5 separate regions of the Homo sapiens genome follow, and regions 2, 3, 4 and 5 are each linked to region 1. The links are contacts of gene promoters, found by promoter capture Hi-C in blood cells and fetal thymus (Javierre and others, 2016). All regions are on one chromosome and are shown on one strand. Each heading gives the region's core, a stretch centred on a gene start or on the middle of the fragment in contact. The rest is flanking DNA. Distances are from core to core; before and after follow the strand shown.

Evidence for each region. Contacts are between HindIII fragments. The CHiCAGO score rates a contact against its expected background, and 5 or more counts as called.
Region 2: the fragment with the promoter of SNX10 here is called in contact with the fragment with the promoter of HOXA11 in region 1 in 5 of 17 cell types (neutrophils, activated CD4 T cells, M0 macrophages and 2 more); the score reaches 8.9 in neutrophils.
Region 3: a contact is called between a fragment that was not itself captured here and the fragment with the promoter of HOXA11 in region 1, in 3 of 17 cell types (naive B cells, total B cells and neutrophils). The highest score is 13.2, in naive B cells.
Region 4: a fragment that was not itself captured here is called in contact with the fragment with the promoter of HOXA11 in region 1 in 1 of 17 cell types (megakaryocytes); the score reaches 6.1 in megakaryocytes.
Region 5: a fragment that was not itself captured here is called in contact with the fragment with the promoter of HOXA11 in region 1 in 1 of 17 cell types (endothelial precursors); the score reaches 5.3 in endothelial precursors.

What each region holds. Positions count from the first base shown.
Region 1 is chr7:27,183,035-27,188,040 of GRCh38, forward strand. HOXA11 (homeobox A11) reads right to left here and starts at 2,198. Exons shown (of 2, transcript NM_005523.6): 1 at 1,402-2,198. The coding sequence starts at 2,110. It overlaps HOXA11-AS (HOXA11 antisense RNA), which reads left to right and starts at 2,374. Exons shown (of 2, transcript NR_002795.2): 1 at 2,374-3,229. RefSeq lists enhancers at 1-679, 680-1,561, 2,444-3,325. The HindIII fragment of the contact is 8,872 bases long and covers 1-5,006 here.
Region 2 is chr7:26,290,427-26,295,432 of GRCh38, forward strand. SNX10 (sorting nexin 10) reads left to right here and starts at 1,436. Exons shown (of 7, transcript NM_013322.3): 1 at 1,436-1,660. RefSeq lists silencers at 1,460-1,699, 1,850-1,929 and an enhancer at 3,421-3,470. The HindIII fragment of the contact is 4,940 bases long and covers 1,265-5,006 here.
Region 3 is chr7:26,371,098-26,376,103 of GRCh38, forward strand. SNX10 (sorting nexin 10) reads left to right here. Exons shown (of 7, transcript NM_013322.3): 6 at 724-936; 7 at 1,394-3,286. The coding sequence ends at 1,475. SNX10-AS1 (SNX10 antisense RNA 1) reads right to left here. Exons shown (of 2, transcript NR_136272.1): 2 at 922-1,471. Among named protein-coding and RNA genes, the nearest start is that of LINC02981, 25 kb to the right of the region's middle. The HindIII fragment of the contact is 1,856 bases long and covers 1,652-3,507 here.
Region 4 is chr7:27,762,806-27,767,811 of GRCh38, forward strand. TAX1BP1 (Tax1 binding protein 1) reads left to right here. Exons shown (of 17, transcript NM_006024.7): 4 at 3,029-3,216. Among named protein-coding and RNA genes, the nearest start is that of TAX1BP1-AS1, 25 kb to the left of the region's middle. The HindIII fragment of the contact is 305 bases long and covers 2,519-2,823 here.
Region 5 is chr7:27,742,510-27,747,515 of GRCh38, forward strand. The region is part of intron 1 of TAX1BP1 (Tax1 binding protein 1); the gene reads left to right. Among named protein-coding and RNA genes, the nearest start is that of TAX1BP1-AS1, 4.3 kb to the left of the region's middle. The HindIII fragment of the contact is 784 bases long and covers 2,058-2,841 here.

The DNA.
Region 1 (5,006 bases), core at 948-3,447:
AGGGAGAAAAGGCATGGGGTGAGCCAGGTGTGGGGGCTGCAATCCACCCCAGAGCCCATAGCTGAGGAGAAGGGCTGCCATGGGGACTGGTGGTCCAGCCCAAGCCCCGTCAAAGTCTGCCCAGGCCCCTGCCTTTAACGCTCCGACTGCATGCTTGGAACGGCCGCAGTTGGAGGCTCAGCCACAGATAAAAGCCAGCTCCCTAAATAGGCCCCCGGGGAAGCTGCTCCCGCTGCCCCCAGAACAGAAAGGAGAGCTTCGCACAGCAACAGGCGAGTTTGCGCTGCCTAAGCCTCTTTGAAAGCAGCCAAGTGGGGGTTGCCGGCTGCCTCTCGCAGGCCAGACTAAACAAACAGCCGCCTGCGGACATTTCACCTTCCAGCACCTGGGCTGCCCCTTCCCAAGGCAGTAAAGGCGGCTCCAGTCCCAGTCTTTCCCGGCTGCGGCCAAGACTGGGCAGTCCTTAACATCTGGGGCGGCTGCCGGGTCTTTGTCAGCCTGAGTCCTGGCCACCAGCTTCTGCCTCCCCGGCCAGCCTTCCGGCTCCGCCGAGGTGGGGAGGTGGCGGCGGAAGCCCCCTACCCTAGGCCTTCGCTGAGCACCACGGCCACACGGCCATCCTGCACACGGCAGAGCAGCGGCTCTATCTTAGGTAGGGTGAAGGGAAAGGGGGCTTCCCGAAGCTGCGGGCAGGCTCTACTTGCTCCCCCTTTAAAAAAAAAAAAAAAAAAAAAAAAAAGACCCACAAGACAAAAAAAAAATCGCTTTTGACAGATTGAATAACAATTGTGAATAACATGCAGTTGGGCAGAAGGAGGCACGTAATTGCCACCACGCCAGAGGAAAATGGCTTCCTTTGGACAAAAAGGCCAACTTTGGGTTAATTTGTTCTTTTAATATATTGCTAGAGCTAAGCGGGCTACTTTATCTGTTAAACGCGCTCCTAGCGCCGTCGTTAAACAGCGACGCCTTTGAATCCCGGCCGGGACTGGAGTCCCGGCGCAACACATGGCTTTTATAAAAATCTCCGGATTACCTCGCTATCAAAAGCTCCCGAAGCCCTTGCAGGGGGAATTTACAGGCGCCCACCTCCGGCTCCCCAGCCTGGAGCTGGCCCCGAGCGGGGTCGAGCTGCTGGGCTTGGGAGCTGAGAAGGGAAAAAAGGGAAAAGGGGAGTTGTTTTTTTTTGCAGGCATGCCTTGGCCGGTGGGTATTTCACGGCCAATTTCAGCACTCGCCACGTGATCCCGCCTTTTATAACAAAGTTTTGTTGGGGGAAACCTAAAGGCCCTTCATAAACCTTATATGCTTATAAAACAGCATATAAAAATTTAACAGCGGTGCTGCGCTAGATTTCCAACTCCCCTTTCATAAAGCGCAGGGCGCTGCCTTTATACGTACTGGAGCCGCCGGCCTTGTCCTCAGTGTGGCCGGAAGACGACTCGGGGCTGCTGCTGCTCTCGGGGCGCCGCCGCCGCTCTTTCTCCTCTGCTGCCGCCGCCGTCTCCCGGCAGCCGCCGCCGCCGCCGCTGTCCGAACTTGAAGTTGCCGGCGCGCCCGTTGCAGCCGCCGCCGCCGCCGCGGAGGTCGCCGTGGCCGCCGGGGGCCCCTTCTCGGCGCTCTTGTCCCCGGGGTAGTCGGAGGAGGCGAGGTTTTCCGGGGTGCCGTAGGCTGTCTCGAAAAACTGGTCGAAAGCCTGTGGCAGGACGCCGTTCCTGCCCACGGTGCTATAGAAATTGGACGAGACTGCGGGGGTGGGGTGGTGGTAGACGTTGGCCGAGCTCTTGGCCAGCACGTCGCCAGGCACGCCGGCCGCGCTGGGCGCCTGCAGGCAGTCTCTGTGCACGAGCTCCTCCGCGGAGTAGCAGTGGGCCAGATTGCCGCGGGGGTGCCATTTAGTGGCGGGCTCAATGGCGTACTCTCTGAAGGTCACTTCGCGCACGGGTTGGACCTGGGGCAGGTTGGAGGAGTAGGAGTATGTCATTGGGCGCGAAGACGGGGTCTGGGGCAGAAAAGAAGGGAGGCTGGAGAAATCTGGACCCGAGACGTAGTAAGTACAACTTGGCAAATACATGTTAGAGGAGCAGGGACCACGCTCATCAAAATCCATTATTGGGCTACCTTGGGCTCTCCGCAGTAGCCGAGCTTAACATGATTCTCCACTGCAGCTGCCTCTTTGAAGCGGATCCGTGAAGTAGAAATTTGGAGACGTAAGCTGACGTGGAAATCTATCCCCATCCTTAGCAGGGAGGTGCTGGTCATGTGACCCGATGTTGAAATTGACAAGCTGCTAGCTAGTCCGGGCCTTTTCCCCCCCCCTTTCCTTTTTTTTTTTTCCTCCTCTCCCCTCCCTCCCGGCTTCCTTTCTTTGTAGCCACCTCAGGGGAAGCAACAGATCGTCACTCGGTGTTCTCACCGAAAGCACGTAATCGCCGGTGTAACTCATGTTGGCTGGGGGGCCTCCCGGCGCGCGCGGAGAGGCTGGGGTGCGCCCCCATGCAGCATGCTTGTGCTCAATTGCAGGGTCCTCGTTCTCGAGTGTGCAGAGGGCGGTGAGAGCTCAACTCTCGTCCCCACCTCCCACCCGCAGCTCCCCGGGTGGGTGAGGGATGCCCTGGACTGGGGATAGCCAGGTGGGAGTCCGTCGCTGTGTGGCCTGTGGTCTCGGAGTCTGTTCTCCTGGAGTCTCGCATTTGCACCCCCTTCTTCGCAGTCCCCCTCCCATAGACTTGCTCTGGGAAGCGCCTCTGCCTCCGACCCTAGCCGGAACCCCTTCGGGGCCAGAGTTTGAAGCCGTGGATGTGCCTGCCTGGTGGCTTGTCCGATTTGCACGGTGACTTGATTACACTCTCTCATTCATGGTCACTTCCGAAGCGCTTTAGTGCCTTCCGTCCCTAAACCGCCAACAGCCAGAACGGCTTCTCCCCGCGGTTTGTCACTGATCCGCAGGGCCCGGAAGGGCCTTCGTCTTACCCGGGATCCACCTCTCCCCTCATCTTCCCTGCCTACCTCTTCATCCCACCTTCTGTCCTTGGAGAAACTCCCTCCTCCTCGCTGCCTGCCGGGCTTCGGAGTGACTCGGCAGAGACAGAGGCACAGGGGCTGCCCTGCTGCTCACCGGTCCACCCATCTGCCTGGTCTTCTGGAGCTGAGGACTCGGGAAACCATGCAATTGAGGCAAGCCTTGGGCTGCTTTAGAGGCGCTGACATCCGAGGAGACTTCTCCTGGGTATGCTGCATCTTCGTGGGGGGCCCATCAGGCTGCTTACAGAGCTCCAGGGGTGTGGGGAGAATGGAGGTGGAAAGGACGGGCTGAGGGCCAAGGAGAGGTGGCTGAGAAAGGGGTAACCCACCTACTCTCCTACTCTCCTTCCTTGCAATGTGTGAGAGTGAAAGCAAGGGATGTGCAGGGCAAAAACTCAGAGAGCTCTGTGCCTTTCCTACTGCTCATTCCACAGGAGGAATACAATACCAGAGAAAGGAGAGGTGCTTCCCGAACTCCCTGCACCTGGGGAAACAGGGATGTCTTTAAAAAGCTAGGTTTGTGCTAAGGATAGAGAGAGGCCATAGCAATACTCTGAGTCTAGCTTTCTTGAGAAGAGGAAAAAAAATAAATTAAGAAGGCAAAATATGCTCCCCATCCTGCAGGATTGAAGGAGCAATGTTTGGAGGAAGCGAAAGAAAGGAGAGGACACAGAGCACAGAGCAGCCAGGCAGAGCCAGGAGCTGAGAAGGGCCCAGACCTGAGGCCTCCCAACAACTCTCTTCTTGGAAGGATCTGGGATGTTGCTGAAGGAAAATAAAAAAATATGTAAAAAGATAACCTTTTGTTTTTCCCTCTCCAGGAAATAGCCAAAGTTATTTACATATCTTGGGGAGATTTAGAGTATAAACTCTAAGATCTTTGGTATTTAAGTGTCAACATCGATTTATTTATTTATTGCTGAGCTGACTGTAACTGACTCAATAACAAATCTAATCGTGTATTGCACTGGAAAAGAAATATTCTTATTATGTATTTTCTCCAAATAATGGCCTACCATTGCATTTGAATACCTGCTGTAAATATCAATAATATGAAGTAATTACTCTGTAGTCGAGTAAACTAATTTATTAGCATTAATGTTTATGTGGCTCTCCACCTCCCCCCACCACCACCTTTACAAGGATTGCTTATCACAAATCAAGCTACTTGGACACATTGGTTTAATGAACTCTTTATTCAAGATTTGCTACAAGAATTTTCATGTCCTTTGAATCCCTGAGAACTGAACTTGAAATTATTTGTGCATCTTCAGCTTGACATATTTGTCCACTGTGGCTTGTCCAGAGGGCAGCAGTGCTGTGAGTGAGAAGGTCCAGTGGGAAGGAAGGTTATTGGAGAAGAGTAGCCTCAGACCTCCTAAAGCTGGGAAGCACATTTACAGAATTGCCCTGCAGCGAAAAAACTTCTATTTCCAGCAGTGACCAACAAGGCAAAATGTTTGTTTCTCCACAGCATCTCTTTTTTAGAGACAGAATATAAAAGACAGAAGGAGAGGTTTCAAACAGCGGTATTCGAGCTGTTCCCTGGCTTGATTTTGGCTATCCCAAGCTCTCTCTCTGCAGCCCACCCAGTCCACGCCACCCCTACCTTCGAACAAAAGGAATGCATGAAGGGTTTCAGTGACTTTGCCATAACAAAGGCGCCACCATTGCGGGGCTCGCCCCGCCCCTGGGTGAAGGCAAACAAATTCTTGCACTTGTATTAGGGCTTTTAAGACCATAATTGAACCCGGGGGCGTCTAGGAAAACCGAAAACAGTTCTAGACAGACCTGCGGTTTTATAGCAGTTTTGGCAGTCAACTTCAGCTTGTGCCTGAGCAGACGGGGTTGTGGTGGCCCGCCAGCGGGGGATGCCAGGCCACCTCCCCCAGCGGCACGCAGCCCCTCTCTTAATTAGATCGGTTTTCCCCTGGTGTCCGGGAGAGCGGTCCCGGCAGAAAGGTCGGTATGGGGGTGTGCGC
Region 2 (5,006 bases), core at 186-2,685, 890 kb before region 1:
TTTCACCGTTTTAGCCGGGATGGTCTCGATCTCCTGACCTCGTGATCCGCCCGCCTCGGCCTCCCAAAGTGCTGGGATTACAGGCGTGAGCCACCGCGCCCGGCCCAAGTTACCAGTCTTAATAGGGTCAAAATTCTAACAGATATTCAAATGACTTTCAGTAGACTCTCCAAGGGTTTGTTGCTGCTTTGTCTACAGCTGTAAAGTCATGCTCTTGACAATAAGTTCAGAAAGATTTTAATTTTACAGAATCTCTTAGGATCTTAGATACATGCTGCATTTTGTTTTCTACTCAATGTTTTTCTTTGCGGAGCATAGGGACAAGAATATAAAAAATACACTTTAATTTGATTTTCTTTCTTTTTTTTTTGAGACAGAATCTTGCTCTGTCGCCCAGGCTGGAGTGCAATGGCATGATCTCGGCTCACTGCAACCTCTGCCTCCCGGGTTCAAGCTATTCTCCTGCCTCAGCCTCCCGAGTAGCTGGGATTACAGGCGCGCGCCACCACGCCCAGCTAAGTTTTTGTATTTTTAGTAGAGACGGCATTTCACCATGTCAGCCAGGATGGTCTCCATCTCCTGACCTTGTAATCCACCCGCCTCGGCCTCCCAGAGTGCTGGGATTACAAGCGTGAGCCACCACACCAGCTTAATTTGATTTTCAAAAGTGATCATGGTTGCATTCACTTGTGTGTCATGACTTGGGTGCAATTTTAGGAAATTAAATACCAGTGATTGAGGGTTCAGCAATACAACTTCAAGATCCAAGATGTTAAGACACAACATTGTATATTTATACGTTTTGTTAGGGAGTTAATGTAGGTGTGGTGAACAGATGCGTTTTCAGGTGGGCCTGGAATGGTCCCTGGAGGATGATCAGCGACAAGCTGTATCTAATGGGAAAATTCATGCTTGAAAAATGAAATATTAGGCTATGCTTATTATTCTGTGTCATTCAGTCACTTATTAGCAGTTTAAGTGATGATTGTGGTTTCCCATGCAAACAGGTGTGGGGACCCAGCCTCAGGTGCCATTTGGGAAATGCTTTCCTCAGTCAGGTCCCTTGGCAGATCTCATTAGCTTTCCCCCCAAATGTTTTATTGAGACATTTCAAACATAGACAAAAACTGAAATAATTTTATATAAACACCATAGCCCACCACCTAGATGCTATGAACATTCTGCCATTCTTGTTTATCACGTTATTTATCCGTCCTCCTCCCCATCGGCAATCCTCCCCATAACTGTGGGGTCAGGGTTAGGAAGCTTAAGGTGACTCAGGTGGCGAATTCCGAAGGGTGCCGCTGGAGCACCTCCAGCCTCAACGTCCGGACTAATGGGGGCATTTCCTCCCTAACTCAATTTCAGGAAGCAGGAGGCTAGCTCTGCAGGGTGGGGGCGCACCTGGGCTGGGCTGCGCGGAGGCGGCGGAAGCACTAGGCGCGGCGCCCACAGGCGGACGGCTGGCGCTGAGCGCGGGCGCGGGGCCGCTACGTGCGCGGGGAGCGCGGGGAGCGCGGGGAGCGCGGGGCTGCGCTCGTGTGCGCTCCTGGGCGCTCGCCGCCGCCGCTGCCGCCGCGCGCCTTTGAGTCAGCAAACTCCGCGGCCCGCAAGCCCGGCTCGGCCCGGCCCTGCTCTGTTCTGCCCGGAGGAGCCGCCCGTAAGTGACAAGAGACCCGCTGAGGGGGCCTCCCCTGCACCGCCCAGGTGGGGACGGCGGCCCTTCTTTCCAGAGGCGCGGGCCCTTCCCGCTGTTCCCAGGTGCCCGCACCCTTGCGGGCTGGAAAGAGGTTTGGGTCCCTTGGGCTTGGAGCAGAGGAGCCGCCTCCTTTTCAGCCGAGGTGTGCCGGGCAGGGAGAAATGATCAGCGCGGTAGAGCGGGGAGATGGAGCGCGTCGATCCAGGGATTCTTGGCTAAAAAGACACCCCGGGGAGAGGGTGGGGCAGAGGTGGATTCTAGATTACGGAAGAAGTGCTGTGGCACCTTACACCAGGCCGGGTAGAAGGGGGTGGGGAGGTGGTTTTTAAAATTTATTTATTTATTTTTTTATTCATTCATTAACGGGTAGCCTTGAGTTGAGGAATTGGGAGGGGTAGGCAGGTTTATTCGTGGGATTGTGGGATTGAGGGAGAAGGCCCAGGGGAAAATCCATATAATTGACTGATTATCAGATTTGGTGACCAGGAAAGCAACAGCCTGTTTTTCAGTTCCGATGCATCATACTTTTCTCAAATTACACGGATTATTGAGGGGGATCGTCACGGAATGGGGAGCAACATGTCCTGCTGAAAGGAAGGGCTTCTATCTCTACAAGACACGTTAAAAATGATGGTATCAGAAAATTAGAACGGGGAGGAGGCTTGCACATGATCTCCATCAAACCTTTCATTTTACAGACAGGGAGGCTAAGGCCGAGGGACGCTGAGTGTTGGGACCAGGATCATTCAGCCAGATGGGAGCAGAACCAGGCCTACAACCTGGCAGGCTTCTGACTTCCACCCCGGAGTTATGTCCACCTCTGGGGCCTGGGAACTGGGTTTGGATTGCATAAGCTCCCCCTCCTCTCCCAGGAGGGGGCTGGGCTGGAGGCTGAGGCCTTCGCCAGGAAGAAGCAGGGACTGCTTGGATAGTTGACCAGCTTCTGCAGGGGCTCCTCAGTGAGAGAATGGAGGTGAGGTCAGGGACTCCTGCCTTGCCTCTGCCATCACTTCCAGTGATGCCTATTCCTAAGGTAGGTACATAGCTGGACCTTCATTATTCTTAATATTATTTACTTTTTTCTTTTTCTTTTGAGACAAGGTATTATTCTGTCACCCAGGCTGGATTGCAGTGGTGCGATCTTGGCTCACTGCAAACTCCACCTCCCAGGCTTCAGTGATCCTCCCACCTCAGCCTCCCTAGTAGCTGAGACCACAGGTGCGGGCCACCACACCCCTGGCTAACTTCGGTATTTTTTTTGTAGAGACAGGGTTTTGCCATGTTGCCCCAGGCAGGTCTGGAAGTCCTGAGCTCAAGCAATCCACCTGCCTCGGCCTCCCAAAGTGCTAGGATTACAGGGGTGAGCCACTGCGCTCGGCCTTTTATTACTATTTTTTAAAGGAAGGGTAGACTTGAGATTGACTGATAGGGCAGTTTTTAATAAAAATACAAAAATAAAATACATTTAGAAGAAACTGTGTGAAGATGTGAAATATCAGTGATTAGCATGGACTCAACTGGTCGTCCTGTTTCTTCTACCAGTCCATTTCATTCTCACTTTTGATTACCATTTAACTGGGGAGGACATCAGTGTTGACAGTGGGACTTGCTCAGGCTGACACTGTGCCCCACCAGGGAGTCTCCCCTCCAGGCTGGTACACACTTCCTCTTATTTTACTAATGGGAAGGACCCCTGAGTTAGGTAACCTAAAGTAATAGAAATAAGCACGTTCATTAAAAAAAATAAAAGTATGTTAATCAAAGAGTAACGTTGGTGTTCTACAGCAATTCTGCTGGGCTTTGGAGCAGTGGATATCTTTTCTCAGCCCTAGGATCACTACTTTCATTTTAAGGCTTCATTTTGCTCGTTAAGTTACTGGGGAAAATAACTTCTTTTTTCCGTTTTTAGTGACAGGGCTGTGGTTTCACAACCACTTGGTGAAAGGCAGACAACTGGTTGAGAACAGGGGCCAGTCTATGCAGATTTTCATTTCCTAGCATGGCGGAGAAGGGCTTTTGGCCAAGCTCATGGTTGACTCTGTGGGGAATCCCCCAAATTTAGCATTGTTATCTCCAAACATCTTTTTCTTAGTAATCTGGTAGGTATGAATTAGCTCTTCTGTTCTCTAAGCCCTGTTCAAAGAGGAAGGTATATAGTGTAGTGGTTAGAACTTGTGATTCCAGACCCATCTGAGTTGAAATCTTGGTATAATAATTTTCTAAGTATAGTTTTGTTGGCGGGGCACTTAACACTCTCTGAGTTGCCTGTTATTCAGAAATAAAAAAGGGTGATGGTAATCTTTGCTTCCCAGAACTGTTAATACAACAGCTGACATTTATCGAGTGCTTACTATATTCCAGGCATCGTGACATTATCGAGCACTTAATTATGGGCCAGGCATTGTGAAAGAGTTTTTATGTGGCAGTCTCATTAAGCATCACAACAGACTTATGAAGCAGATTCTGTTACTGTCTTCAGTTTACCTCTGGGGAAACTAAGCCATCAGAGTATTTATGATTTCTCTAAACTCAGCTTACAGTTTTAACTACCCAACAAATGTGTGTCAGATTTCTGTTATAAGCTAATAGTTATCTAGGGCTTACTGTGTGGTAGGCCCTGTTACAAGTGTCCTAAGTACGTTAACAACCCTTGAGATAGGTATTGTTTTTCTCCCCTTCTTCTTTCTTTTTACAGATGTGGAAACTGAGGCACAAAGCCCAAGGTCAAACAACTAGTAATGCGAGAGCCAAAATTTGAACTAGGAGCCTGGGTCTGGAATCAGTAGTAACTCTCAGCCACCCACCTGCGAATGTAAAGGGCTTAGCCAGGCTTCAGTCAAGGGCAACTCCTATTGATACTTACATTTATTTTTCCCTAAGTAACTACTCCTTGCTCCCAGTTTCTGCAGAAGAGATGCTTTTAGTTCTACAAGTGATTCAACTTTACTCAAGGCTTTGTGATTCAGTATGTATTTCTATTGTAGTCTCTGTTATTTTTAAAATCTTGTGCTAGGCCTCAGTGATCTTGCCTCTGGGGACAGGGAAATAGTCTTTATCAGATCTGTGAACCCCTTTCAAATATATGATGTCATTTTTACTTTTTTTTTTGATACTTTTGTAGAGATGGGGTTTTGCCATGTTGCCCAGGCTGGTTTTGAACTCCTGAGCTCAAGTGATCCACCCACCTCAGCCTCCCAAAGTGCTGGGATTACAGGTGTGAGCTACTGTGGCCAGCCTGATTTCATATTCATCTGCAAAAGTGCATTATTCTGGGGGAGAGAATCTGTAGCTTTCTTCAGATTCTTAC
Region 3 (5,006 bases), core at 1,330-3,829, 810 kb before region 1:
TGTCTTTGTAAACTTTGATCTTAAATGTGGGAAGAGCAGTATGTATTCATCACAAAATTATCATATTTTAATTATATATATGGTAAAGTTGGCTGGGATCAATTTTATTTGGTTGCTCATTTTGACAACACAGAGATTCAGTGCTCCTAAAGATTTTGGAGAAATTTACAGTTAACCTTAAGTATTAAAAAAAGCCATCTCTCTCATGAGCTGTCGTAAACATGCCCTTAAGTATATAACTGTAAAGTTTTAAAATGTAAAATATGCTGAGAATTGTATTTTCTTCATATAATTTTTAATAGTAGTTGAAAGTTTTGATGTTTCATGACAGCCTATCCCATAAAGATCACTGAATTGACATGCTGTTGGCAGTAAATTTTTTAAAGTAGAATAACTTTCTATGACTATATAAGCAAAATATTTCCATAATTAATCCACATGGTAATAAGAGATGGGTAAATTGAAGAAATGTCCTTGAAGTTATTCTTTTAACAGATGTTCTTAACTATTAGCTTCATGTTTTTACCCACCTAAATTTCCAAATAATTGAATAAAAGTTAACATATGCTTTCCTCCCCTTAATGGGCAGAGCCCATAATTGATACAAAGTTTACCACAGTAGAGAAATTACCTTCAGTGGTACTTTTCTAATGTTTTTCTTTCTTCTACCCTATCACTGACCATCCTGTTCACCAATTATTTTTCCTTTTTTTTTTAATATAGAGTCCTACAGAATGCACTTTTGCTTTCAGATAGCAGCCTTCACCTCTTCTTACAGAGCCATCTGAATTCAGAAGACATTGAGGCGTGTGTTTCTGGGCAGACTAAGTACTCTGTGGAAGAAGCAATTCACAAGTTTGCCTTAATGAATAGACGTTTCCCTGAAGAAGATGAAGAAGGAAAAAAAGAAAATGATATAGATTATGATTCAGAAAGGTATTTCCTTGCATTTTGATTTAATGTATATGTATTTATATAATACATAGTATGCACATATGCACGTGTATAGATATATATACACACTTCACTTTTTTGTTGATATAATACTAAGATAATGAAAAAATTAATTGACTGAGATTTTATTGAGCTGTGACAGCTCATCATAGTAGTCTTCACACACACCTCCACACTGAATTAATGAATGCAGTAGAAATTCAATTATTTGCATTCTGATTATGTGACTTTCATTTAGTCAGACTTGAATTATTCGCGTTTAAATTATCTAGCTAAAAAAATACCCAACTGCACTCCAAATGGCTAATTAAAAGTCCAAATTTCCTGTCTCTCTTTGTGACTGGAGATAATTAAAGTTCTCCTCTGTTACTCAGGCTTTGAGTGTGTTGTGAAAACCAATTTCCTCTTTTTATTATTTTCCCCCTCTCTTCTTTTCCAGTTCATCCTCTGGGCTTGGACACAGTAGTGATGACAGCAGTTCACATGGATGTAAAGTAAATACAGCTCCGCAGGAATCCTGAAAAATAATTCTAATGTTACTATCTTAGGAATAGCAAATTATGTCCAGTCATAGAGAAGAAAGCTTCATAATAATACATTCTTACCTAAAGCTCACTGTCATGATGTTAGGTATTTAAATTCTTAAAGATGTTGGGTTGTTTATTAGTGGTATTTTTATGTTGTCTTATTTTAGGTAAGCTTCTGTGTAAAGCTAAAAATCCTGTGAATACAATACTATCCTTTACAGGCAGACATTATTGGTAAACAAGATCTTGCCCTCCAATGAAATGACTTACATGTTTTAAAAAACCGAGTTGGTTTTATTGAATTTAAAAAGATAGGTAACTAAGTAGCATTTAAAATCAAGATAGAGCATTCCTTCTTGTATCAGTGGGGCAGTGTTACCATAAACACGGTGTATATGTTGTTAAACCCTATGAAGAGTAACAGTGTAGACCAGACTGCCTCTCTCAGATATGTGCCTGATATTTTGTGGATACCTCCCCTGCACTGGCAAAACACTATGCTTTTGGGTGTTAGACTGAAATATTTTAAGAGTATTTAACCTTTCCAGTATTCTGTTTCACGCTTAGATGGAAATGTATCTTATGAATAGAGACATATTAAAATAATGTTTACATCTTAGAAAAAACATAGATAGTGCTAGTAATATTACTTATAACTGTAATATATAGATTCAGAAATACATTTTCATTATCCAAAATCAGCTTCAACAAATGGTTTCTGGAGACAAATAATTTGTTTTCATTATCATTGTATAATCAGGTTAATGATTTATTTTTTGACTAAATGTGCAATTTCTTATCACTAGATAACTTTCAGTATCAGTGGTGGTTACTTATTACTTAAATCAGAGGAAGGATTTTATAAAGATTAATAAATTTAATTTTACCAATAAATATTCCCATAATTTAGAAAAGGATGTCGACTTGCTAATTTCAGAAATAATTATTCATTTTTAAAAAGCCCCTTTTAAAGCATCTACTTGAAGATTGGTATAATTTTCATAAAATGTCTTTTTTTTTAGTGTCCCAAAGATATCTTAGATAAACTATTTTGAAGTTCAGATTTCAGATGAGGCAACATTTTCTTGAGATAATTACCCAAGTTTCATCCATGTTGAATGGTACAAAATATTTCTGTGAAACTAACAGGAAGATATTTTCAGATAACTAGGATAACTTGTTGCTTTGTTACCCAGCCTAATTGAAGAGTGGCAGAGGCTACTACAAAAAGCAACCTTTTCATTTTCACTAAGAGTTTAAAAGCTATTGTATTATTAAAAAGTCTTTACAATGCTTGTTTCAAAGAACCAACAGAAAAAAAAGCTAAGAAAACTGAGAACTAACATTAAAAAAATTAAATTTAGAATAAGAATGATTTCTTTAATTTGTCCTTTTTTTCTTTGGTCTAAAACATTATTAAATTTTTGTAAATATTTTGATTTAATGTGTCTTAGATCCTCATTATTTTAATACAGGAAAAGAAAAGATTTAGTAATTTCTTACCATGCTAATATGTAAAGTTCATGCCATCCAGGCATTTAAGAGCGATCCTCATCCCTTCAGCAATATGTATTTGAGTTCACACTATTTCTGTTTTACAGCAGTTTTGAAAAACACATACTATGCCACCAATTGTCATATTATTTTTAGATGATGTAACATAGCCATCAAAATTAATATTATGTAATGCCTAATACTTAGTATGTAAATGTCACGAGATCATTTTTACATTAAACGTGAAAAAAAATCAACTTTGCCGGATCACTTATTTTATACAAGAGAATATATTCTGCCTTAGACCCAAACTCAGTGTTTTTTATTTTTTATGAGGAAATTTGGTAAAACATGGTTTAATATTAGCTATAGTTGTACATATTTGAGGCTTTTAGCCTTGGTTTAGTTGTTTCAATGTCCACACACTGGCTTCTTAAAACTGATTTCTTGCAGCTGAGATATTTAGATGAACTTCAGTTCCCAGTGGTTTTCTTGCTTTGTCTCTTATTTTTCTCTGGCATATTTTTTATAAAGCTTTCTTTAGGAAAAAGAAAATAATTACTGATGTAGCTAACTTGAATAGATGTTTATTTAACACTATTTTTAATGTGACTTAAATGTAAAGAATTCTAATCCTGGATTCTTTATGATTACAATACAGCAAAACTGCATTTTCCCTGGCTGATTCTTAAAGGGTAAACTATTCACCTATAAAGCCAACTTACGTGTTTTGTTGTAGAACTAGATTTATATATAACCCAAAGGTGTCAACAGCACTGAACGTCAACAACCTGTTACTTCGGCTTCTTATAAAGTCTCACTTAGAAGAAAGTTACTTAATTCTAGTTAAAATTTCAAGTTTTAAAAATTACTAGGGACAAACAAGTATTTATTTTTAAGCAGATACTATTCCTTAAGATATGAAGTATCTTGCCAGTTTTTCAAACCTAGTCCACATTTTATTGAATAATTAAATACAAACAAGTGATATGCAGTATAAAGTAAAAGAACAAAGTTTCTTTTATGACAATTAAGAAGTTAAACAACTTCATTTAGCCTGGCCACAATAACCGTTATATCCAACAGTAAACTGGACGTTGTTTTGAATTTGGTTTGTATTTGTTGGATGCCTTAAGGATTCATTATTATTGAGCTACTGTGATACCAATAAGGTTTTCAGTATTTGAGCTATAAAAGACAACCCCTTTTCATTAGAGGCCCCTTAACATTTTAAACGAAAATAACAAAGCTTATTCTGTTTCTAAATAGTCTTCCTCTTAATATTTAAATTACTTAGCTGGTATCCTGTGAATACAAGGCAACATCTTTTCAATGAAGGAAACAATTTCAGTACAATTTTGTGTTTTTGTTTGGAATATAGACCTTTTCTTAGTTTATTATATATAAACACATTTTCAAATACAAAATACTGTCTGAAATTAGTTACTGCAATTTGACATTCAAAGCATAGAATTTTCTTTGCAAATAAAGGTCATAAGAAATTAATAATTTTAATAGAGTGGAGTTCAAAAATTTCAGAAGGATGTAAATAAGCAACAATTTCTTTAACATTTGCTATATATACAAAGGACTTTGGTTCTATTCTTTGCCATATGCATCTTACAAACGAGTCACCATTGTCCCTTTTTAGCAGACACAATTGCGCTTCACTCCTACTGCAAACTTTTCTAGATCATGAGCAGTGCATTGGACACTAATTTATTTTAGCTGCGCAAACTCTGGTAGTTAATGACCCTTTCTCTTTCTCCAAAATTCCAAAGACTTCTTTTCAAAAGATATAGAGGAAAAGAGAAAAAAAACCATTAAGCTACAATTTCCTGCTGAATTTAAACTCTGGTCTAAAGACACTATGTAAATGGCTTATGCTAAAGAGGAAAATACCCTTTCTCCCCCGACGAGAAGTGTAGATTCATCCAACCCCACACCGCTTGTCTTTGCTGCTAGAGGCACAGCACGGGCATAACTTGTGGTTGTGTTTTTGCTAGTTTCTTACCTCTGGGCCTTCTTTAT
Region 4 (5,006 bases), core at 1,421-3,920, 580 kb after region 1:
GCCAGGCATGGTGGTGTACACCTAAAGTCCCAGCTACTTGAGAGGCTGAGGTGGGGAGGATCACTTGAGCCCAGGAGGCTGGGGTTGCGGTGAGCCGAGATTGTACCACTTCACTCCAGACTTGGCGACAGAGTGAGAACCTGTCTCAAAAATTCATGGGCACTAAGCCTAAATGCAATATGTTTTACAAGTTTCTGAAAATTCAACAGTTCATTTTTATTTTGAATTTTGAAATTCAGAAATAAAAGCATCTCCGTGCCTAGAACTTTTTTGTTATATAAGGAAGTCAGGGAAAGCTTAGTCATTGAATATTAGAGTTATAGAAGGGCTTTCAAGCATAATGCAAATCACTTTGCTCATTTTGTGGATGAGTAATGAGAATCCTGAAATGCAAAACCCAAAACATCTAACAATACCTAAACGTGATTGTTTTCCTAAATGAACCCTTATTTATTTATTATAATCTTGTTGAATACTAAAGGCACAGTCTGTAAAATTTGACTCGAAAATTTAGTTTTCACTTTTTCCCATTTTATTTTCAGTATCCATCTGACAAGTTTTTCCAGGCAGCTTTAAATTGCAGCTCTGAATAATTATGTCTATCTCAAATGGTTTTGAACCATATTTTTTAGCAGTTTATTTTAGTGAAGTTTTTGTTTTTTAAAGAATCAGACCTTGAGGCCGGGCACGGTGGCTCACACCTGTAATCCCAGCACTTTGGGAGGCCGGGGCGGGTGGATTACCTGAGGATAGGAATTCAAGACCAGTCTTGCCAACATGGTGAAACCCCGTCTCCACTAAAATACAAAAGAATTCGCTGGGCGTGATGGCGTGTGCCTGTAATTCCAGCTACTCGGGAGGCTGACGCAGGGGAATTGCTTGAAGCAGGGAGGTGGAGGTTGCAGTAAGCTGAGATCAGGCCACTGCACTCCAGCCTGGGTGACAGAGCGAGACTCTGTCTCAAAAAAAAAAAAAGAATCAGACCTTGAATACCTAGTTTGTACAGTTTCTAATGTCTTGATGCCAGAGCTGATTAATTATGCTATATATTTGTTTTCTAGTTAAGCTTTTAAATAAGCCTAGTGGCTATTTGGAAGTTGGTATGAATTAGTAAGTTTTTAGTAGCTATTAGGAGGGTGGATTTTTAAAATCTTTAAAAATGTATGTTGCCAGATACATGTCTATGATATTTATTTAAACTTTGTATTTTGAAGTAATTTTAGATGTAAAGAAAACTTGCAAAAGTAGTACACAGAATTTCTGTATGCCCTTTGCCCATCTTCGTGTCATGTGAGCATCTTACATGACCATGGTACATTTATTTAAGAAACCAATAGTTTAACAGTGGTACAGTACTATTGACTAAAGTACAAACCTTACTCAGATTTCACCAGTGTTTCCATTACTGTTCTTTTTCTGTTCTTAGATCCAGTCTTTAATTCCTCTTTGTATTTAATTGTCATGTTGTCTTAGTCTCCTTGGTTTCCTCCTTATCTTTCATAACCTTTACTTTCTTGTGAAGTACTGTTAGCATTTTGTGGTGTTGTTTGTTTTGGTAGCTTGTCTCTCATCTTGGTTTTGCTCGATGTTTTCTCATGATTAGATTGAAGTTATGCATTTTTGGGAAGAATGCCATAGAAACAGTATTGTACCTTTCTCAGTACATTTTATCAGGGAGTATGTGATGTCCATACATCTTATTACTGGTTATAATAATCTTGATTGCTTGTTTAAGATTGTGTCTTCTGGATTTCTCCACTGTAAATAAAGTTATTATTTTTTTCCCTTGTAATTAATGAATATTATGAGGGAGCTACTTTGAGACTGTGGAAATATCTTGTTTCTCCTCATATTTTCAGCCACTAATTTTAGTATCCCTCTGTGCATCTTGCCTACGATTATTGTGGTGTTTGCCTAATGAAGTTCATTACTTGTATATTTATTAGTTGATCATTACGTTAGAAAGAATTTTCTTCTTCTCCATGGAATCATTAATTTCTTCTGTGAAATAAAGTCTAATACCATATTTTTTTTGTTACTTAAATTGTTTCAGCTTTAGCCATTTGGAGCTTTTCAAGTGGGCTCCTGTATTTTTTTTTGACATGCTCCACCCCTCTCTTAATTCCTTTTTGTGGACTGCTACTTTGCTTTAAAGCGCCACAAGAATTTCTCTTATCTTATAGATTGTCTGCCTCTCCTCTCTGTTTTTTTTTTTTTTTTTTTTTTTTGAGGCGGAGTCTCACTCTGTCGCTCAGGCTGGAGTGCAGTGGCACCATCATGGTTCATTGCAGTCTTGACCTCCTGGGCTCAAGCGATCCTCCCGCTTCAGCCTCCCTAGTAGCTGGGACTGCAGGTACATGCCATCACACCTGGCAAATTTTTGTATTTTTTGTAGTGACAGGGTTTCACCATGTTGGCCAGGCTGGTCTCTAACTCCAGGTGGGCTCAAGCGAATCTGCCCACCTTGGCCTTCCAAAGTGCTGGGATTACAGGCATGAGCCACCGCACTGGGTCCTAAAGCTTATTTTTACCATACTGCACTAGCAGACCTCATCTTTTCTGCCTTCATATAGTTCACATGTGCAGCATATTACTTTAGTTAATATCTCTTATTTACATGTAATGAATGTCAAATTGGAGGGAAGATTTCTCTAAATGACATATTCCCACCCCCACTCCCAGTCCTCAGTAGACTTTTATATTGGTTCTTCCCTTGCTCCTCCTCCAGCCTCTTTCCCATTGTAAAGTATATACTTGCCTGTCCTAAATGAGTGGGTTTTGCCCTAGTGAAGATACAAGGGGAAAGGATATTCTGGGAATATAAGCTTAAACCTAAGAGAAGAAAAAATTTAACTTTGAGTAGGAAGGAAGAATCTAGTTTTGATAATTTGCGAAAGGAGGAAGGACATATCCCAGATTCTTGTCAAGAACAGTGTGGGGAATGAGACATGGCAAGTATTGTTAAATTGAAATAACATGAATTTTATAATAGGAAGTTTAATAATTTTGTTTGTTAACTTCCTCTTAGGATATTACCTTCCAAATGATGATGGAGAATTTTATCAGTTCTGTTACGTTACCCATAAGGGTGAAATTCGTGGAGCAAGTACACCTTTCCAGTTTCGAGCTTCTTCTCCAGTTGAAGAGCTGCTTACTATGGAAGATGAAGGAAATTCTGACATGTTAGTGGTGACCACAAAAGCAGGCCTTCTTGAGGTTGGTGTTCACAGTGAGATAGTGATTCATTGATAATTTTAAGAACAGAGCTCATGTTGGTTGGCATTTTAAGAATTTTAAGGTTATGTGAGAGTTGCCACAAAAATCGAATGCTTTGGCTGGGCGCAGTGGCTCACGCCTGTAATCCCGGCACTCTGGGAGGCCGAGGCAGGCAGATCACGATGTCAGGATATCGAGACCATCCTGGCTAACACGGTGTAACTCTGTCTCTACTAAGAATACAAAAAATTAGACGGGCGTGGTGGCAGGCACCTGTAGTCCCAGCTACTCGGGAGGCTGAAGCAGGAGAATGGCATGAACCCGGGAGGCAGAGCTTGCAGTGAGCCAAGATCGTGCCACTGCACTCCAGCCTGGGCGACAGAGCGAGACTCCGTATCAAAAAAAAAAAAAAAAAAAAAAAAAAAAAAAAAAAAAAAAAAAAAATCGAATGCTTTTTAACTAAAATAATAAATTTAGAGTGTCTTTTTTTGAAATGCTTAAAAAAATCTTTTGGCCACAATTATGCTGTTGGTTCCACTGTGGCAGAGACTTTCCCTAGGGCCTATCCTTATTTTGCGCATAGTGGATAGTGCAGTAAGTACCAATTGGGAGAGTTTAGGTCTAAAGCTTTCCTTATGTTCCTTTGCCTAACTTTTTGTGGTGGCGTAATCAGTTCATTGTAGAATGTTACCGATTTGGGGATGAAGCTGCTTGGGATAATGGTGTAAATCAATAAATCTAACTGTAATTGGATGTGAACTTTGTTTCACTACCATGAGCATTCTCTTTCTAAAGTGTGGCAGTGAGTCAGGGGAGCTTCCCAGTCTCTTAATTTAGATTGGACATTTTTAGAATGATTCCTGTTGTACTTCTGATGAAATGAATAAGCCTAGATTAACCATAATTTAAAAAGAAAATTTAAAAAGCTATTTACTCCTTACTGTTTTTGTAAATAGAATATTGTGGAGTCATGATCATGGCTTTAATATAAATTTACTATGTAGATGGTCTAATAATGCCTTGTGTATTAATTTTTAGTAGTCATTGACAGAAAAAATAGAGTGACATTCTTTTCTCATTTTAAGATCACATTTTTCAATATCTTTATCCTATACCTAAAAAACTACAGTGTTATATTTGAGTTATTGTGATTAATTGTATATAGTGCCCTCTATTATAATAATAAGAAAAATAGTTTCTCAAATTGGTTCAGTATACATTTTTGGCTAATTTATATTCATATTTCTTCTATTGCAGCTATTGCTTTTTCTTTATAGTTGGATAGATTTTTTTAACATGTAAATATTTAATACCTTTGATTTTACTTTTATTTACCTCAAAGAACTGAGACTGGAGTAAAAAGACAAGAGGTTACAGATAGAATACTTTTATTAGACAGTCAAACTAGGTTAGGAGGAACTAATGATTTTTTATTGTGAATTCTTTCATATCTTTCCTTCCCCTTTACAGAAATTCCTCTCTTATCTTAAAGAAATGTAACTTTTATAGGGTGACTAAAACATTTTGTGGTGCAACTGCCTGATGATCAAGGTTTTTAGCTTTGTATTTGAATGCCAGTCAAAGATGCTGAAACAAACCCAGATCTTAAGAATGCAGTCAGTATTTATATTGTAGCTTTTTGAATACTTATTAGACCACCCTCATTTCAGGGCCTCCAACAGAAAAGTGATGGGCATTTTGGCATTCACATTTATCTTGTACTTTTTCTTCAAGTAGATTGAGACATATCTCATTCTGTTTCACTCCTTCCTACTCCACAAAGGGTACTT
Region 5 (5,006 bases), core at 1,200-3,699, 560 kb after region 1:
GAATCTCAAGGCAGAATAATTTTTCTTAGTACAGAACAAAATGGAGTCTCCTATGTCTACTTCTTTCTACACAGACACAGTAACAGTCTGATCTCTCTTGCTTTTCCCCACACATACCCGGCAAATTTTTGTATTTTTAGTAGAGACGAGGTTTCTCCATGTTGGTCAGGCTAGTGTCGAACTCCTGACCTCTTGATCCGCCTGCCTCGGCCTTCCAAAGTGCTGGGATTACAGGTGTGAGCCACCGCACCCAGCCCATCACGTTCTTAAATTGTAGACCGCTGTTTATAGTTCTCACTGCAGCCATGTTTGTAGAATTAACCAGCAAATACCTTTTCCATAACAAAAGTAAAATTTTGGAATTCAAAGTTTCAACCTTTTTAATAATGTTAAAATAATCATGAAAGATCCTAATGATGCTCCTTGTATACTTCTTTTGGGGACTTTGTTGTATTCTTTTGGAATGGATATGTTAAATCTGGGCTTTATGCATTTCTGTCTTTTTAAAGCTTATTTTGTCCCAAATAAACCTTTAGAAGAAGATAAAAATGTCCTCTACCCTAATATGTGTGGGCCAATATCATAGCATTTTAGAAACCAACTTATAAAAATCTAAAAAGTAAATAAAAGTGGTGCGGGTGATACCTGGGCGGAATGTCTTGGCACTCAGGTGTAAAGGATTCTGGAAATAGGGATGTCTGCAAGGGTGCAAATTAATAGACTGGGGCTTTTGCTGTTGCCTCCTAGAAAAATTGCTGATTACATTTTTTGGGAGCAGAGGTCTGTTGAGAGTTGTTAGTCTTTCTTTTTTTGAGCCACAGTGTGAATAATTGGAAACTATTTGAATGCTGGACATTTTTTCCTTTCATATGTTTGTGTGTCCTATCGGATTAAAGTTTGGAGATAATTCTAAAGGTTTTTTAGCTGAAGATGTGAAAAACTTTCAGTAACTCTATCAACCATTACCTGAATTACAACACTTCTAAGGGTACAAAGCGTTCATATTCTAAAATGCAGTGTTTCTGCTACAGTGGGTCATATGTGGAGTGTTACTAATCTGTTTCATTTCTTTATTTGCTTTGGTTTTACTATTACAGAAATTTTCAAACATACACAAAGGAGAATGAACAGTAAAATGAACCGACACTTTACTAATCTTGTTTTATTACCCCCTCTAACATTAATTTTTTCCCCTGGAGTTTTTAAAGCAAATCTTAGACATCAAGACATTTCACTTACAGTTAGTTTAGTATCTTTATTTTTTTTTTTTTTTTTTTTTTTTTTTTTTTTTTTTTTTTTTTTTTTTTGAGACGGAGTCTCGCTCTGTCGCCCAGGTCGGACTGCGGACTGCAGTGGCGCAATCTCGGCTCACTGCAAGCTCCGCTTCCCGGGTTCACGCCATTCTCCTGCCTCAGCCTCCCGAGTAGCTGGGACTACAGGCGCCCGCCACCGCGCCCGGCTAATTTTTTGTATTTTTAGTAGAGACGGGGTTTCACCTTGTTAGCCAGGATGGTCTCGATCTCCTGACCTCATGATCCACCCGCCTCGGCCTCCCAAAGTGCTGGGATTACAGGCGTGAGCCACCGCGCCCGGCCTAGTATCTTTATTTTTTATTTTTATTTATTTTTTATTTTTGAGACGGAGTCTCGCTGTCACCCAGGCTGGAGTGCAATGGCGTGATCTCAGCTCACTGCAGGCTCCGCCCCCCAGGGTTCACGCCATTCTCCTGCCTCAGCCTCCCGAGTAGCTGGGACTACAGGCGCCTGCCACCTCGCCCGGCTAATTTTTTGTATTTTTAGTAGAGATGGGTTTTCACCGTGTTAGCCAGGATGGTCTCGATCTCCTGAACTCGTGATCCGCCCGCCTCGGCCTCCCAAAGTGCTGGGATTACAGGCGTGAGCCACCGCACCCGGCCTAGTTTAGTATCTTTAAATGATAAAGACTAGAAAAACACAGAATCACCATAATTATATTATCACACATAACAAAATTACCTTATTTTTGAATTCTAATTGTTAGGACTGGCAAATTATATTTAGTATTTATCTAAATTAAAAAGCTTAATTTGGCTTCATATGTTTAATGTACAGAAGTTCTTACTATGGTCTATTTTTCAGTAAGTTCACTAAGGCTTACATTTTTGGGCTAAAGTAAAACAAGTATTGGGAACCACTGGAAAAATACTACCACAAAAGTCAAATCTGCTTTGGGCTTGAAAAAGTTACAAGAGGAGTAAGTAAAGATAACATTGAAATGCTTCCCTGCCCCCACCCCATGTTTATTTTAGCTGTATACATAACTGAGTGCCCACTATATATTATTTATCTTTTTTATAGACATTAATGCATTCGCAAAATAATAAAATTGGAATTTAGACCAAAGACTTTATAATATACAGTTTACAGCATAACACACATAAAGAAATTCTAGAGGCATTGGAACTTGGGGAAGTGTAGTAGGAAACCTGGAAGAGGGCACTGTAGCCAGCATGTATAAGCATTTCTGATTTTGTTTCCCAGCCAAATGTGTCTGGCCCCTTAATTGTTGACTGGACGTTTCATACTTATCCTTGGCTTGCCTACTTACTATACTCCTGTTTGTAGAGGTGCACTTTAGAGAAGGGGAATCAGAATTTGACATGGTAAAGCTGCTTGCTTCTACTTTCCTTTTTGTGTAGGGAGTGTACTTCTCTCCAACTGAGAGGAGGTTTGTACTTTTTCTCAGGATGTTAGTGAAGCTACACTTCCCAGGCATTACCACAAGGTGATGCAGTGACTTTGCATATTATTTCTCCACTCCCGTGCGACCTTGACATTCTCAGTGAATTCCAACATTTTTGTAAGCTTGCCTAAGTCTGTTATCTGTAGGAGGAGTGAACCAGAGGAACTATGTGGGAATTAGAAATTTTATTATTTAAAATGGGTTGATAATGACATAATTATATTTGATTGCATTCATCCATGTAAACTTTTTAAATGATTAGTAGCTATATTGTAATTTAATAAGAGTAAAAAATGACAAGGTACTGGAATGACTTTTGTAAAATATTTCTATAATTATAGCAATGAAATTTTAAAAAGATTGGAGTGTTGGAGAGAGATTAATGAAGGCCATTAATAGGATAATCACAAATTATTTTACTTTTCAGACTTGTAACCATTGTGAATACTATATTTTAAAGTGAAATACTAGTGTTTTCTATTAGAAAATGTGAAATTCAGGGGAGGGTTTAAAAATGGAATTTCTTGTTAATAGGGCTATTTAAAACAATAGAAATAATACATTTATATATACTTGTAAAAATTCAAACAATAAATTGATGTAAAATTTAAGGTCCTTAAGTCTTCTTTTTACACACATCCCTTATAAGACTATTAACTCTATAGTGTATACTTCTTGAGTTCCTTTTGATGCATTTGTAAACATATACAAATACATATATGTATACCTATGTGCTATTTTGTACCTCAAAAACTTCAGTGAACTAAAAGTATAAGGTTGGATTGTGGGTTTTTAAAAAACTGTTATAATTGAGGTTAACAGAAGTTGAAACACTTTTGCCTTGTTTTATAAAAAAAATAGTTACAGCTTTGTTGGTTTAATTTATTTTAGGAAATGATATGTTAAATTTTAAGAAAAAAGTATTATCCTTAATCAGCTTTTGATTAAAAACATGGGACGTTTATTCTAAGCTAGTTTATTTCCTTCTTACTGAATATCTTTCTTAAAGGAAGCGTGACTATTCACTCACTTCATAGAAAAATATTATTCTCTTAATTCAGTTTTGGTAGTTGTATCTAATAGATGTTGGTTCTGTTGATTTAGCTATAGTTTCTTTTGTTGGTGTCTTGTAACCAGTAGTGAGTTTTTTTTTTTTCTTTTTTTTTTAAAGAACTGGAATTGGTGTTTTTTTTTTTTTCCTTTGTGAAGCCAGTGACTTGAGATAATCATTAATGACTTCATTAGTATCATGACCTCCCTGGGAGCCCAAATTAGCTCAGACAACTCAAAGAAACAAAATAATAAAACTCTTCAGTTATTTTAGGCAGAGTTCTCCAGTGTTTGTAAATGCTACCTGTTCATTTTTCTGATGGCTTTAGGTTACCAGGTAGAGAGTATTCATAGTTAAGTCTTTCCATGAAATATGGTTGCTGGTAGCAAAGTCCCTTTATTAGTGCAGAGGTAAAGGGGGATTGCTACTGAATATACTCTTTATCTTGGAATGCTTGCAAACCTCAGGTAGGGAGAGGCTGACAACTAGCCTGATACTCTACAGTGGTTTCCAGGTTCATGATTGACAGTCTCTTTTTGGGATATCCATTATATTCAGTAAAGCAGGACTTTGGCCATAACAGAAGCAGAGGGGACACAAGAAGAAAGTTGATATTTTTTAAAGTGCTTATTATTACAAAACTTTAAAAATTTGCCTTAGTATTTCAAACAGGTCAGCAAAAGAAACAGTTGTAAAAGCACACTGTTTTAGATCTTAGCAATAAGCCTTCTTACTAATGGCTAAAATATGAGTAGAGCCTTACTGCTGTGCTTGCTCTGTAGAAACTTCATTGATTTGTGAAGTAAATTAGATTAATTTGGTTAGCAAAAACCTTGCCCCAGTTTTCCCCATTATTACAGAGATGCCTGTTTTAATGACTCAAGCAAGTGCAGTCAGGACAGTCATAGTTTCTTATGTGTATTGTAGAATTAGTGATTGTACGGAGCCTGTGACAAACTCTACAGATTGCTTTTTTGGGTAAATCCTCATTTGTTTCTGTTTTCTCAAAAGTAGAGCACAAAATAGGGAAAACATTTGGATCTTGCAGTTTTTATAATCTGCTTTCACCATTCATCTGCTATCCAGTGCTTGGTGTTTACTAAGCCAGTGAGCGTTCATGAATCTCTAAGAGATTTTCAACAGTGTGTATTTTATTAACACTACACTTTTATTTTTATTTTTAAATATAAGTTTATTTTAATCAGTAAACATGTGGAAAGGGTACGTGAATACT